Linked DNA regions of Homo sapiens: all the other regions are linked to region 1. Evidence: promoter capture Hi-C in 16 types of primary human blood cells and fetal thymus (Javierre and others, 2016). All regions are on one chromosome and are shown on one strand. The core of a region is centred on a gene start or on the middle of the fragment in contact, and the rest is flanking DNA. Distances in the headings are between cores, read along the strand shown. Region 1 holds the start of EIF2B1 (eukaryotic translation initiation factor 2B subunit alpha). Region 2 overlaps SBNO1 (strawberry notch homolog 1). Region 3 overlaps SBNO1 (strawberry notch homolog 1). Region 4 overlaps SBNO1 (strawberry notch homolog 1).

What was found. Contacts are between HindIII fragments. The CHiCAGO score rates a contact against its expected background, and 5 or more counts as called.
Region 2: a fragment that was not itself captured here is called in contact with the fragment with the promoter of EIF2B1 in region 1 in 2 of 17 cell types (naive CD4 T cells and M1 macrophages); the score reaches 5.8 in naive CD4 T cells.
Region 3: a contact is called between a fragment that was not itself captured here and the fragment with the promoter of EIF2B1 in region 1, in 3 of 17 cell types (M2 macrophages, M1 macrophages and erythroblasts). The highest score is 7.5, in M2 macrophages.
Region 4: a fragment that was not itself captured here is called in contact with the fragment with the promoter of EIF2B1 in region 1 in 1 of 17 cell types (non-activated CD4 T cells); the score reaches 5.1 in non-activated CD4 T cells.

The regions. Positions count from the first base shown.
Region 1 is chr12:123,632,214-123,635,548 of GRCh38, forward strand. It overlaps EIF2B1 (eukaryotic translation initiation factor 2B subunit alpha), which reads right to left and starts at 1,473. Exons shown (of 9, transcript NM_001414.4): 1 at 1,332-1,473; 2 at 132-233. The coding sequence starts at 1,344. It overlaps GTF2H3 (general transcription factor IIH subunit 3), which reads left to right and starts at 1,616. Exons shown (of 13, transcript NM_001516.5): 1 at 1,616-1,659. The coding sequence starts at 1,647. RefSeq lists an enhancer at 1,500-1,689. The HindIII fragment of the contact is 11,619 bases long and covers 1-3,335 here.
Region 2 is chr12:123,290,028-123,293,362 of GRCh38, forward strand. SBNO1 (strawberry notch homolog 1) reads right to left here. Exons shown (of 32, transcript NM_001167856.3): 32 at 1-3,335. Among named protein-coding and RNA genes, the nearest start is that of CDK2AP1, 20 kb to the left of the region's middle. The HindIII fragment of the contact is 3,566 bases long and covers 1-3,335 here.
Region 3 is chr12:123,320,824-123,324,158 of GRCh38, forward strand. It overlaps SBNO1 (strawberry notch homolog 1), which reads right to left. Exons shown (of 32, transcript NM_001167856.3): 16 at 2,857-3,008; 17 at 712-909; 18 at 1-43. Among named protein-coding and RNA genes, the nearest start is that of MIR8072, 42 kb to the right of the region's middle. The HindIII fragment of the contact is 5,710 bases long and covers 1-3,335 here.
Region 4 is chr12:123,339,415-123,342,749 of GRCh38, forward strand. SBNO1 (strawberry notch homolog 1) reads right to left here. Exons shown (of 32, transcript NM_001167856.3): 5 at 1,574-1,674. Among named protein-coding and RNA genes, the nearest start is that of MIR8072, 24 kb to the right of the region's middle. RefSeq lists a silencer at 1,754-1,977. The HindIII fragment of the contact is 2,069 bases long and covers 457-2,525 here.

The DNA.
Region 1 (3,335 bases), core at 223-2,722:
GCCAAGATCTCGCCACTGCACTCCAGCCTGGGTGACAGAGTGAGGCTCCGTCTCTTTAAAAAAAAAAAAAAAGAAAAGAAAAAAAAGACTATCCTAAGTCCCAGAGTGTTAACAGATGACTCTCTATATACCTTTATCTCTCTTCAAGAACTCCAGCAACGTCCGGATGGCAGCCACTGCTGAGGCCATGTCAGGATCTTCTTTCATCTGAGACTTAAAGTATTCAATTAACTCTGGAAAAAGGGAAAAAAGTGATTCACCTAATTCATTTAGCAGCCTATAAGGCAAGAGAGCTTGTTAATGACTGTTGACTTTAAGAAGCAAACAATTTAAAAAATACTTTCTTTTTAGGGTATTTGGTTTCAGGGATGCAATAAATGTTGATGGGAATAGAGAAAATACCACTTTGCTGTTTGCAAGAGCTCTTTTTTATTTTGAAAAAGCTACTGGTGGCCGGGCGCGGTGGCTCACGCCTGTAATCCCAGCACTTTGGGAGTCCGAGGCGGGCGGATCACGAGGTCAGGAGATCGAGACCATCCCGGCTAAAACGGTGAAACCCCGTCTCTACTAAAAATACAAAAAATTAGCCGGGCGTAGTGGCGGGCGCCTGTAGTCCCAGCTACTTGGGAGGCTGAGGCAGGAGAATGGCGTGAACCCGGGAGGCGGAGCTTGCAGTGAGCCGAGACTGCGCCACTGCACTCCAGCCTGGGTGACAGAGCGAGACTCCGTCTCAAAAAAAAAAAAAAAAAAGCTACTGGTGTGCAAGGCCTAAAAATTAAGCCCGAGTAAATGATGATGAAAAGTCATTCTCTCTTCAGCCTCTTTGGTCCTAAAATCTGAGAGGATCCCAGAGTCAACCATCTTGCCAATTTCTCCTGCACCCCTCCAGACAGTCTATGCTAATACATGTCTATTCACATACACATATATGTTACAAATATTATACATGGAGTTCCACCCACTCCCCTTTATTTCTTTACATGAAAAGTGTATTAGTTTGCCCTTGTTTTTCACTTAATAACCATACTAGATGAGCACATCAAATATGCCTTATTCATTCTAATTTTAATGACAGATCCAACAAGGCAGGAAGGAGACTGGCACTGGGAAGGAGCGTATGTGTGGGAGGGATGCCTGCAGATACTGCCAGGGCGCATCCCTGAAAACAAGAGCAGCGCGAGGGATTTAGTTGTGACTCTGGAAACACAACCAGCGGAGCAGCCTGAAATTCAAAAGAAATCTCTTCGGGAGCTCAGCCTGGATGTGAGAGGTTGGGGGGACCCCTGAACGGCGCTGCTGTAGCCTAGCAGCCCTGGCCTGTCTTGATTTACCCTTGTCGTCCATGGCGTCCTCCTGCTGCGGAGCCCCAGGGGACCCGAGCCGCCCGCGCTGTCTCGAACGGGTCCGCCGGCCGCGCCGCCTGCGAGCCAGTCTGACAGCGCGCTGCACACCTCCGCACCCCACTTCCGGCGCACTTCCGTACCCCTCTTCCGGCGCACTCCCCGCACTCCACTTCCGCAGATTAGGGGGCTGGCACGAGTCACAGCACCTCGTGCGTCACTTGGCGGCGCCGGACGTTGGGCTGCGCAGGATTTGAGACGCTCCCCTGACCACCACTTGCTCTGCGCTGAGGTGCTGGGACAGCCATGGTTTCAGACGGTGAGGACCCTGCAGGGCGGGACTTCGACTCCGGGGCTCGGCTGTCTCGGTCCGGCTACGACTGGCCAGATGGAATGTGTCTTTTGGGCTGGATAGAATCCGTTTGGTCTTTAGAGGAGTAGCCAAGGCATTCAGTCATTCATTCAGTAAATAGTTTTGGATCGCCTCCTGTGTACAGGCATTATTTTCTGGATTTTAGCAGAGATCGTGACAGACAGGGGCCTTAGTGGAGGTTACAGTCTACTGGGTGAAACAGATGACAATAAATAAAAATAATTTCGGCCGGGTCGCACCCCGGTGGATTAGGCCTGTAATCCCAGCACTTTGGGAGGCCGAGGAGGGAGAATCGCTTGAAGCCGGGAGTTCGAGACCTGCCTGGGCAACACAGCCAGACCCCATCTCTACAAAAAAAATGAAATATTAGCCGGGCGTGGTAGCGCGTGTCTGTGGTCCCAGCTACGCGGGAGGCTGAGGCGGGAGAATCACTTGAGCCCAGGAATTCGAGGCTTCAGTGAGCTATTATGGCAGTACTGCACCCAGCATGGCCGACAGGGCATGACCTCGTCAATAAAAAATTAAAAAATAAATTATTTTTCAAAGGATGAAAAGAGCTATGAAGATGATGTAACAGTACGGTCCTAGTTACAATAGTACATTGTGACTAGGATTGAGGAGGAGCTGTTTTAGATAGGGGCCTAGGAAAAGTGCAGGATATTGAAACCGACTTGAATGATTATGTGAAGTTCTGGGGGAAGTGCACTTTAAGTGCATGGGCCCTGTGGCAGATTGAGCCACCAAGTTACACTGAGAAGGGAGAAATGGAGAGCTTGCGGGTAGAGGATGGTGGGGAGACTCATTCATACATTAAACTACCACATACAGAGTCAGATGTCTTGAAGATTTAAAAGGAGGCTAGAGGGATGAGATCAGAGAACCAGCCAGTTTCAGGTCATGCAGGGCCTTATTGGCCGTGATAGAGAAGTTGGCCTTTATTTTTAGGTGCAATACAAAGACATTGTAGAGTTTTAAGCCAGAAAGTGTTATGATCTGGTTTGCAATTTTAAAAGATCACTGTGGCTGTTGTGTGGAAAATGGACTGTGGGGAGCAAGAATAGAGATAGGGGAGTCCTTTCAGGAACTGTAATAATTGTCCATCCTCTCTTAATTGATGTGAAACCATACCACAACCCTGTGAGGGAGGCAGGCCTGGCATTGCTCCTGTCTACAAATGAGGTAGCGAACTAAAGAAGGAAATTCACAGGGTCATTGCATGTGTATAGATGCACACCTTTCTTTACAGGCAACGCTTTTTCTGTCTGGCAGACACAGTTGTATTAAGTGCTTCTGTCCTAGGTGCTTTGTTGTGTGATTTACACATTTTTTTGTTTTGTTTTTCTATTAAAAAAGAAAAAAAGTGGCTGGGCACAGTGGCTCACGCCTGTAATCCCAGCATTTTGGAAGGCCAAGGTGGGTGGATCACTTGAGGTCGGGAGTTCGAGACCAGCCTGGCCAACATGGTGAAACCCCGTCTCTGCTCAAAATACAAAAAAATTAACCGGACAAGGTGGCGCACACCTATAATCCCAGCTACTCAGGAGGCTGAGGCAGGAAAATTGCTTGAACCCAGGAGGCAGAGGTTGCAGTGAGCCAAGATCGTGCCACTGCACTCCAGCTTG
Region 2 (3,335 bases), core at 343-2,842, 340 kb before region 1:
GAATTACAAGTATCAAAAAGAACCCGCCTTTTTGGGCTTCTTCTTTTCCTTGCTTAGCCCTGCACTAAGGGGCAGTCTTGCTGGACGGTGCCCTGCCACGTTGCGGCAGCCCAGATGGCCGCACTGCCAACCACAGCACGGCTTCCCCATGGGCGCCAGAGGGAGACTGAGCAAGGAGGGTCTGCGTGGAGGATGCACACTGGAGGCAATCTGTGACAGGCCCCAATTCACGACAAATTTAGTTCCCAAGACTGATCCAAATACAGAATGCTTTTACATTTTTCACCAAGTCTACCAAGTTGAATAGTAATGAATGAAACTTGTACATGAATGAAAAGGCCCCAAAGACGCTCACGGCAATCCTTGAAAGTTATAAAGGAACATTTTCTTACAGGTGCAAAATTGTGAACAAATACCCAATGTCTGCCTCCCGGGTGCTCAACACCATCATTTTGATGAACCATCCGGGTCTTCCCAACTCGAATTATTAAAAACGCCTCGATCCCGCTCTGCTTCTAGGCTTACGGCTGATGTAGACAAGATCCACTCACCGATACAAGGGTGGAGAGCACAGCCGTTCAGGGTACCCCAGGGACCAGTGCTGCAATGGGAATCTGCTTGTCTCACCCTCCAGCAGAGTCAGCCTAGGAGGCTCCAGAGCAGTTGCTTGGCTCTCTTTTGGAGGACAATTGTTCCTTAATGTACATTCTCTCTCTTTTTTTTTTTTCGAGACGGAGTCTCGGTCTGTTGCCCAGGCTGGAGTGCAGTGGCGCGATCTGGGCTCACTGCAAGCTCTGCCTCCCAGGTTCATGCCATTCTCCTGCCTCAGCCTCCTGAGTAGCTGGGACTACAGGCACCCGCCACCACGCCTGGCTAAGTTTTTTTTTTTTTTGTATTTTTAGTAGAGACGGGGTTTCACCGTGTTAGCCAGGAGATGGTCTCAATCTCCTGACCTCATGATCCGCCCGCCTCGGCCTCCCAAAGTGCTGGGATTACAGGCGTGAGCCACCGCACCCGGCCAATGTACATTCTCTAAAGTCACCTGTCAATAACACACTAGGCCTGCCTCCTGCCTGCTATAAATATCCTCAACAGGTTATAAACAGCAGCAGGCTACCTGTGTTCATTGCAAGTAAATTACTCATCATTTGTAGGTTAAAAGCATAGGCCCGACTTCTTAAATAAACATAGGGAATTTGCTGCAGCAGCAGGCCAGAAACCACTGTTTCAAATCTGCAAGATTTTCCTATCAGGTGGGAAGACAGAGATAAGAAATATGGTAAGGCCTGAAAAATTGCAAAAGTAGAAGCAAGTCAGGTTTGCTGATCTAAGAGCTAAGTTTGATCCCAAATGCACTGAAGAAGTTAGAGGAGCTTAAAGAAGTCTCAGGAAGCATTTTTTAAAATGTGAAAACATCAGGCTCACTATAGCTTCCAAAGAACAACATAAACGAGCATCAGCAGTCATACAATGACAGTATCAGAAATGGCACTCAAGTGCATCCCCCCAGTACAATGCATTGCACACAACACAATAAGACATAGTAAAAAACATTAACACAAAACAGGAATTCTACAGCAAAGATGCAAAACTGAATTCTAAAATACAGGAACAAATACTTTTCTAAATGAAAAGTTTTCCATACTTTTCTTAAAAAAAAAAAAAAAAAAAAGTCATAAGATGCCCCATATGGGAAAGTCAAGAAAAGAATAAATAGAGCTGAAGGGAAGAGGGAAAAGGGAGAAACAGGTGGGCAGAGTCCCAATTTACAAGAATTATTTACATTCAGAATCCAGAAGAACTCAACATTTCTCTATATATACATTTATGTACATATATATAAATACAGCACAAAATTAGAGGGTGGGTTTTGGATTTTATCTCAAGTACTCAAAAAAAAAATGCTAGCGAGCTTGAGTTGCAGGTATTTAGGTGTGTTTCTGTCACTTAAAAGACACTGCATTTGTATCAGACAACTGGCATTCAATGAGACATTTTTTTTTTTTTTTGCAGTTTTTGCTCTCAGCTGTAGCCCTGACATGAAACGCTTGCTACGTTTCTGCAGCAAAGTGGGCCGAGCGCAGTACGCACAGGTGTGGTGTTAGCCAGGGAGACCGAAGCCACACAGAAGGGGAGTCAGTAAATGTCCATCTCCACGGTGTCTGCCTTTGCCATTGGGAGGCCTGAACTAATCAAACGTTCATTAATAGGATCCCAGCCTAACAGCAACGCTTATGTAGCACCATTCTTAGAAACTACCAAGTATCACACAGGTACATGTGTATGGGGACCTTCCTCTTGACTGCTTGTCAAGAAAAGGATCCAGAGGGAACTTCTGCCCCTACTTCCATGAAGTGAGATGCAACAATCATTTCCAATCTATTTTTTTATCTCATGCTAAAATGAAAGTGGAGGGGAGAGGGAAGAAGGCTCCCATTCTACAATTATAAATGCTGTCCTGGTAGCCTTTCTTCTCTTGCCGGCTAACAATTGTTCTAACAGCATCCCATGGAGGCCAGCAAATGAATGCCCCAGGGACTACAGCCAGAAAATTGTGCCTGTAAAATATCATATTCCTCTGGAGCTTGGTAATATAGAAATTTTACCTCTACAGATGAGGCAAACTAAAATATTGTTGTAACTCAAAAAGGCTTCTGAAGTGCTGAGTTAGAATAAATATATATAGATACATACACACACTACATTGCTTTGGATGCAGGTTCTTACTAATTTATATACACATGTAAAGAGAAGATACTGAAGTGTCTAACTGTAATTTAGCAGCAGAAAAAGAAAACTGCTTAACATATTTGCTTCTTAATCAAGTTGTGTTTAAAGAAATGCATTAATACTCCTATGAATTTGTATCATTGATAGTGTATCTGGATAATCCCAGTAACTACAGACAGAGACCTTGTGGTATGGAGGTTGCTAAATGAGGGGAACACTAATTCCCCCAGAGATAACATCTGAGCTGCTTTAGACTCTGGAAGTGGTTTTCAGTACAATTGACGCTGTAAACTCTGAAAACACGAACATGATTTCCAACCAAATCTTTGTGCTCAGAGCCATATTGCTAAAAAGAAAAAGGCATTGCAGAGGCAAAGTGGACATGGGGTTAATTAAACAAGGCCTCTGAATTCAGGTGTGGCATTTAGATCCTGCAATGAATGGACCTATTTTACAGAAGTCAGCGGCAAATTTTTTGTATTTTTTGGTACAGATGGGGTTTTGCCATGTGGACCAGGCTGGTCTCGAACTCCTGGCCTCAAGTGATGCACCTGCCTTGGCCTCCCGAAGTGCTGGGATTATAGGAGTGAGCCACCACGCCCGGC
Region 3 (3,335 bases), core at 621-3,120, 310 kb before region 1:
TTCTCTTTGTTTTTCTTGTGGTCTTTTCTAATTAACCAGGGATCTGAGTGTTAAGGAAAGATACATGTCAAATCATTTGTTAAAACAAGTACAGAATCTTCAAAGGAAACAACCTTTGAAATTTTATTTTTTTGAGACAATGTTTCGCTGTTGTAGCCCAGGCTGGAGTGCAATGGCGCAATCTCAGCTTACTGCAATCTCCACCTCCTGGGTTCAAGCGATTCTCCTGCCTCAGCCTCCTGAGTAGCTGGGATTACAGGTATGTGCCACCACACCTGGCTAATTTTGTATTTTTAGTAGAGATGGGGTTTTTCCACGTTGGTCAGGCTGATCTCGAACTCCCAGCCTCAGGTGATCCACCCACCTTAGCCTCCCAAATTGCTGGGATTACAGGCATGAGCCACCGCGCCTGGATGAAATTTTTTATATTGTTAACTGATAACTTATCACCACCTACATTGGTTCATCCATACACCATGGGGTACAAATCCATGTTTTCAAGTTAAAAATAACTGCACAAAATTGAGGTTATCTTCTCACATATATGAGGCTCAAACTTCCAGAAGGTAGATAAGCCTGGAGCTTTCCACCAAGCAAAGATTATAATCTGTGTGATCATTTGTACTGTACAGAAGAAAAGGTTTCATATCCCATTTTCAAATATACTGAAATATTATATGCTTTCGTGTATATTTAATATACTGAACTTACCATTTTCATCATCCTCATTAGACTCATCTAAAAATGGGTTGAAATCGTCATCATCTCCAGAACTCATGTTTTTAGAGCTCTCATAGTCACTTTCTTCATTATCAGAGGCATCAGATTCACTTCCACTGTCGTCAGAACTGCTACCAGTAAGGCCACCTACTTTTCGTGCTTTTTTGGCTTCTCGAGTTATTTCTTCACCTACCCTCCGCCACAAACAAGAGAGTCAGCCCAAATTCAATGTTTCTTAAGATCCAGTACATCACATTTAGTTCATGAATTAATTCAAATGAAAAGTGCAGAGGAAAAGTATTTAGGTTAAGTCAAAAAACAAACAGAATTCACAAACCAGCACTAACCTTTTGGACTCCCATAAAAAATAAGGTTATAAACATTTATTCTGAAGAAGAAATTGGATACAAAAGTACTAAGTCAAGACTGCCTTCAAGTGCACAAGTTTCAAAACATATTCAGGACAACAGAGTAAAAGCAGAACCTCTGGCATAGTCACAATTTGACTGTGTATCAGATTTGAGAAGAGGCCTAATAATTACAGGTTTATAGACATGGAATACTTAGAAAATCAATAGAAAATCAATTTATAAAACCTTTTTATTTTTGGAGACAGGGCCTCACTGTTGCCCAGGCTGGAGTGCAGTGGCACAATCATAGCTCACTGCAGCCTCGACTTCCCTGGCTCATGTGATCCTCCCACCTCAGCCTCCCAAGTACCTGGGACTACAGGCACATGCAACCATGACCAGATATTTTTTTTTTTTCCCCAGACAGTGTCTACTCTGTCTCCCAGGCTAAAGTGCAGTGGCATAATCTTGGCTCACTGCAACCTCTGCCTCCCGAGTTCAAGTGATTCTAATGCCTCAGCCTCCCTTATAGCTGGGATTATAAGGCGCCCCTGCCGCCAGTCCTGGCTAAGTTTTTAATTTTTAGTAGAGAAGGGGTTTCGCCATGTTGGCCAGGCTGGTCTCGAACTCCTGACCTCAGGTGATCCGCCTGTTTCAACTCCCAAAAAGCTGGGATTACAGGCGTGAGCCACTGTGCCCGGCGAGAAGTCAACTTCTAAAACCAAAACAGGGCTGGGCGAGATGGCTCACACCTGTAATCCCAGCACTTTGGGAGGCCTAGGTGGGTGCATTGCTTAAGCTCAGGAGTTTGAGACCAGCCTGGCCAACATGGTGAAACCCCATCTCTACTAAAAATACAAAAATTAGCAGGGCGTGGTGGTGCATGCCTGTAATCCCAGCTCCTTGAACCCAGGAGGCAGAGGTTGCAGTGAGCCAAGATGGTACCACTGCACTCCAGCCTGGGTGACGGAGACGGAGACCCTGTCTCAAAAAAAAAAAAGAAAAAAAAAGAAAAGGCTCTTTTAAAGAAAACTACTGAAACACCCAGCTGTCTATATATTAAAGAACAGGTCTGACAATACAAAGACACAGGTTTTAGTTCCCATGCATCATTAACTATCTCTGTGAAACTAGGAAAACTCTTTAATCTTTAAATCTTTCTGTGCTTCAATGATCTCTGTCTATAAAATTGGAAAAATAAGACCTAATTTCGTATGGACCTCTGCCAGGTTATATGGTAGAATGTATATAGCCAAGTGCTTAACACACTGCCAACCACCAGTGAATTGCTCAATTCCTAATTTAAAACGGGGATAACTTGTGCATTCAAAATTGTACAAGTGACAGTGAAAATTTGGAACCATTTGTGAATTCATGGAAGGCAGTTCATTCCCAAAATATAGCCACTTTAAAATGCTTATGTTTTAATTTCAACAGTATTTTCAACGTCAACTATTTTCTTTTTTCTTTTTCTTTTTTGAGACAGAGTCTCGCTCTGTCATCCAGGCTGGAGTGCAGCAGCGCTATCTCGGCTCACTGCAAGCTCTGCCTCCTGGGTTCACGACATTCTCCTGCCTCAGCCTCCCGAGTAGCTGGGACTATAGGTGCCCACCACGATGCCCGGCTAATTTTTTGTATTTTCAGTAGAGATGGGGTTTCACCGTGTTAGCCAGGATGGTCTCGATCTCCTGACCTCGTGATCTGCCCACCTCAGCCTCCCAAAGTGCTGGGATTACAGGTGTGAGCCACCGCACCTGGCCTATTTTTTCTTTTTTAAAGTGCTCACCTTTCCGCTTCTTTATTTTATTTTCTTTACAAGGACTATCTCTTGGCGAACTGTTGTTACTTGGAGCTGTCAAATCGATTCCTAGTAAACTATAAAGTTTTTTCCTGTCTGGAGCAGGAAAATGTTTTTCAATGAGTGACTGCAACACACCTCTGTAGGAGAGAAACAGTGACAATTACTGCTTCAGTTGACAAAATAATTATATGTAAAGTATTATTAAATATATTGAAATATACTTTGTTCAGTTTTACAAAATACTGATAAACGAGCTCAAATAAATTTTAATTTTCTAGCCCAAAGCTGTCCAACTAAATAATAAGAATGCAAGCCAAACCACATACACAATTATTGTATTTTCTGGTAGCTTAAATTAAAAAAGTAAAAAATAAATAAAACTGGTGGAACTAATTTTAATAATACATTTTAACTCAATATACCATGTCAACACATATGTTTTATGTTATTTTCTCTTAAGGAGT
Region 4 (3,335 bases), core at 241-2,740, 290 kb before region 1:
CAGTCTGCACCCCAACTTCTCCTGAATCACTAACAGGTCCCTCCATGTCTACTGGCTCAATGGTGCTAGACTAAGTCCAAAGTCCTTCAAACTCAATTCAGCACAGGGCACCTTGGCCTCCCAGCACTTTGGGAGGCCGAGCTGGAGGGATCACTTGAGGTCAGGTATTCGAGACCAGCCTGGCCAATGTGGTAAAACCCCGTCTCTACTAAAAACACAAAAATTAGCCAGGGCTGGTGGTGGGCACCTGTAATCCCACCTACTCAGGAAGCTGAGGCAGAAGAATCGCTCGAACCTGGGAGGCGGAGATTGCAGTGAGCCAAGATTGCACCACTACACTCCAGCCTGGTCAACAGAGCAAGACTCCATCTCAAAAACAACAACAACAATAAAAACCTCAATTCAGGACCCTCCATGGAGCCCAGACCTACTATTCCCACTTCTTTCTACAAGCTAAGCTTCCTGGCTTATTTTCACCGAAGCACATACTCACTACCTCCCCTCTGTGCCCATTAATCCTTTAGCTCCCTTCCTAATATCCCACCTCAAAGTCTCGTCATACTCAAAACCCAAGCTCCATTATTCCCTCTCCATAAAGTCCACCAGGCCACTAGAGTTCAGGAAGGTCACCTCTTCCTCCAAATTCCTAACCTTTATTGTGAGTAGCACATTGCATACCATTTGATGTACTTTTCATTATTACTACTTAATCCAGATGGTTGTCAAATTTTGCTTACTGAAGGTAGAATCATGTAATAAATATACTTCTTGTAGAAACCTACTACATATTAACAATGTTATACATGGAGAATTTATTAAATAAATGTATGGAATCAATTGATCCAAAGCATACAGCATTTTCAAAATGTTAAGAATTCTAACCAGGCCGGGTGCAGTGGCTCACGCCTGTAATCTCAGCACTTTCGGAGGCTGAGGCGGGCAGATTACCTGAGGTCAGGAGTTCGAGACCATCCTGGCCAACATGGTGAAACCCCATTTCTACTAAAAATACAAAAATTAGCCAAGCATGGTGGCACATGCCTGTAATCCCAGCTACTTGAGAGGCTGAGGTGGGAGAATCACTTGAACCTGGGAGGTGGAGGTTACAGTGAGCCAAGATAGCACCACTGCACTCCAGCCTGGGCGATAAGAGTAAGACTCTGTCTCAAAAAAAAAAAAAAAAAAAAAAAAGAATCACTCATAACCAGATCATTATATGATCTGTCAATGCATTATGAGCTTTCTATTCAAGTTCGGTCCTAAAATGAACACAGTTATCAAATACTTTTCGTTAACCCCACATTGTCTTTTTTTCTGCTCAGATGAGATTTTTAACAGTAAGATATCAGTACTGCATGTTAGTGCCACACTCCATCAATCTGCAAGTTTTAACCACCCTGGTTAGTATCTATATTACTCCAGCGAGGTTTAAGCATATCCATTAGTTCCCACGCCTGTATAGCTTCTTCCCAACCCAAAAACAGCTTTCTGAGGGTTGTTCCATATAGAACACTTTTAGTTGAGTACACTCTCATACTACACAAAAATAAAGACACAGTTATTTGAAACTCACCATGGTTGGGGAAAAACTCCTCATCTTCATGTCGTTTATCCACATTCTAGCTCCTTCTTTATTAGAAGACTCTTTCTTTACTGTACCATTGCTTACATCAGCTGAGGAGGAAAAAGTCAAATTACATTTAGAAGAAAATTCTGAACTTATTTTCCCATTATTTAAAAATCCAGAAGTTTAAGGCTGCTGCGGTGGCTCACACCTGTAATCCCAGCATTTTTGGGACACCAAGGCGGGTGAATTACAAGGTCAGGAGTTCAAGACCAGCCTGGCCAAGATTGTGAAACCGCATCTCTACTAAAAATACAGAAACAAGCTGGGCGTGGTGGCGGGCACCTGTAATCCCAGCTACTCGGGAGACTGAGGCAGAGAATTGCTTGAACCTGGGAGGTGGAGGTTGAAATGAGCCGAGATTGCACCACTGCACTTCAGCCTGGGTGACAGAACAAGACTTTGTCTAAAAAAATAAAAATAAAAAACCCAGAAGTTTACATATTTCAAAAACCAAAGAATGTCAATCTGCCTATAACTAATTTATTTTTATTTATTTATTTTTGGAGTTTCACTCTTGTTGCCCAGGATGGAGTGCGTTGGCGCAATCTCAGCTGACTGCAACCTCCTCCTCCCGAGTTCAAGCGATTCTCCTGCCTCAGACCCCCAAGTAGCTGGGATTACAGGAATGCGCCACCATGCCTGCCTAATTTTGTAATTTTTTTTTTAAGTAAAAACGGAGTTTCTCCATGTTGGTCAGGCTGGTCTTGAACTCCCAACCTCAGGTGATCTGCCCACTTTGGCATCCCAAAGTGCTGGGATTACAGGCGTGAGCCACCGCACCTGGCCTCTATTACTAATTTAAATTAAGCACAGGCATGAAAACATGTAAACCCATGTGTCTTTATGGAAGTAAAGAATTAACTTTAGAAAACAACTCAAAAGGAACGTGTGCAAGGGAAGCTTGAAAATTATTTATCAGAAAGATACCCAAAAGCCAGCATTACTTTGAGACACTTCATTTGACTCATTAAAAATAAACAAGGCCGGCGCAGTGGCTCACGCCTGTAATCCCAGCACTTTGGGAGGCCGAGGAGGCCCAGTCTCTACTAAAAATACAAAATTAGCCGGGCATGGTGGCGCATGCTCATAATCCCAGCTACTTGGGAGGCTGAGGCAGAGAACTGCTTGAACCCGGGAGGCGGAGGCTGCAGTGAGCTGAGATTGCATCATTGAACTCCAGCCTGGGCAACAAGAGTAAAACTCTGTCTCAAAAAAATTAATTAATTAATTAATTAAAATTTAAAAAAATACAAAAAAAAATTAGCTGGGCGTGGTGGCGGGCGCCTGTAGTCCCAGCTACTAGGGAGGCTGAGGCAGGAGAATGGCATGAAAACAGGAGGCAGAGCCTGCAATGAGCCGAGATCGCGCCACTGCACTCCAGCCTGGGCGACAGATCAAGACTCTCAAAAAAGAAAAAAAACAAAAAAACCCAAAACCTGGGGTTATCACCCAAACAGAATCAATTTCATGTGATCTGGTGGTACTTACTAATTTTCAAGGCAAAATAATTATTTCTAGAAGAAGAAAAATCAATTTGGGAACTCCTTACTTCCTCCTGCTCCCAGAGTAAAGATCTAAACAATGAACACTTTCTTCTATACCACTGGTTTTCAAACTCTTTTAAATATAGCAATAAAATCTCAGAATCCACTTATCAATCAGCAGAGCTACTTGACTGAATAGGGGTGGGAGGTATCCAGTCCAGAAC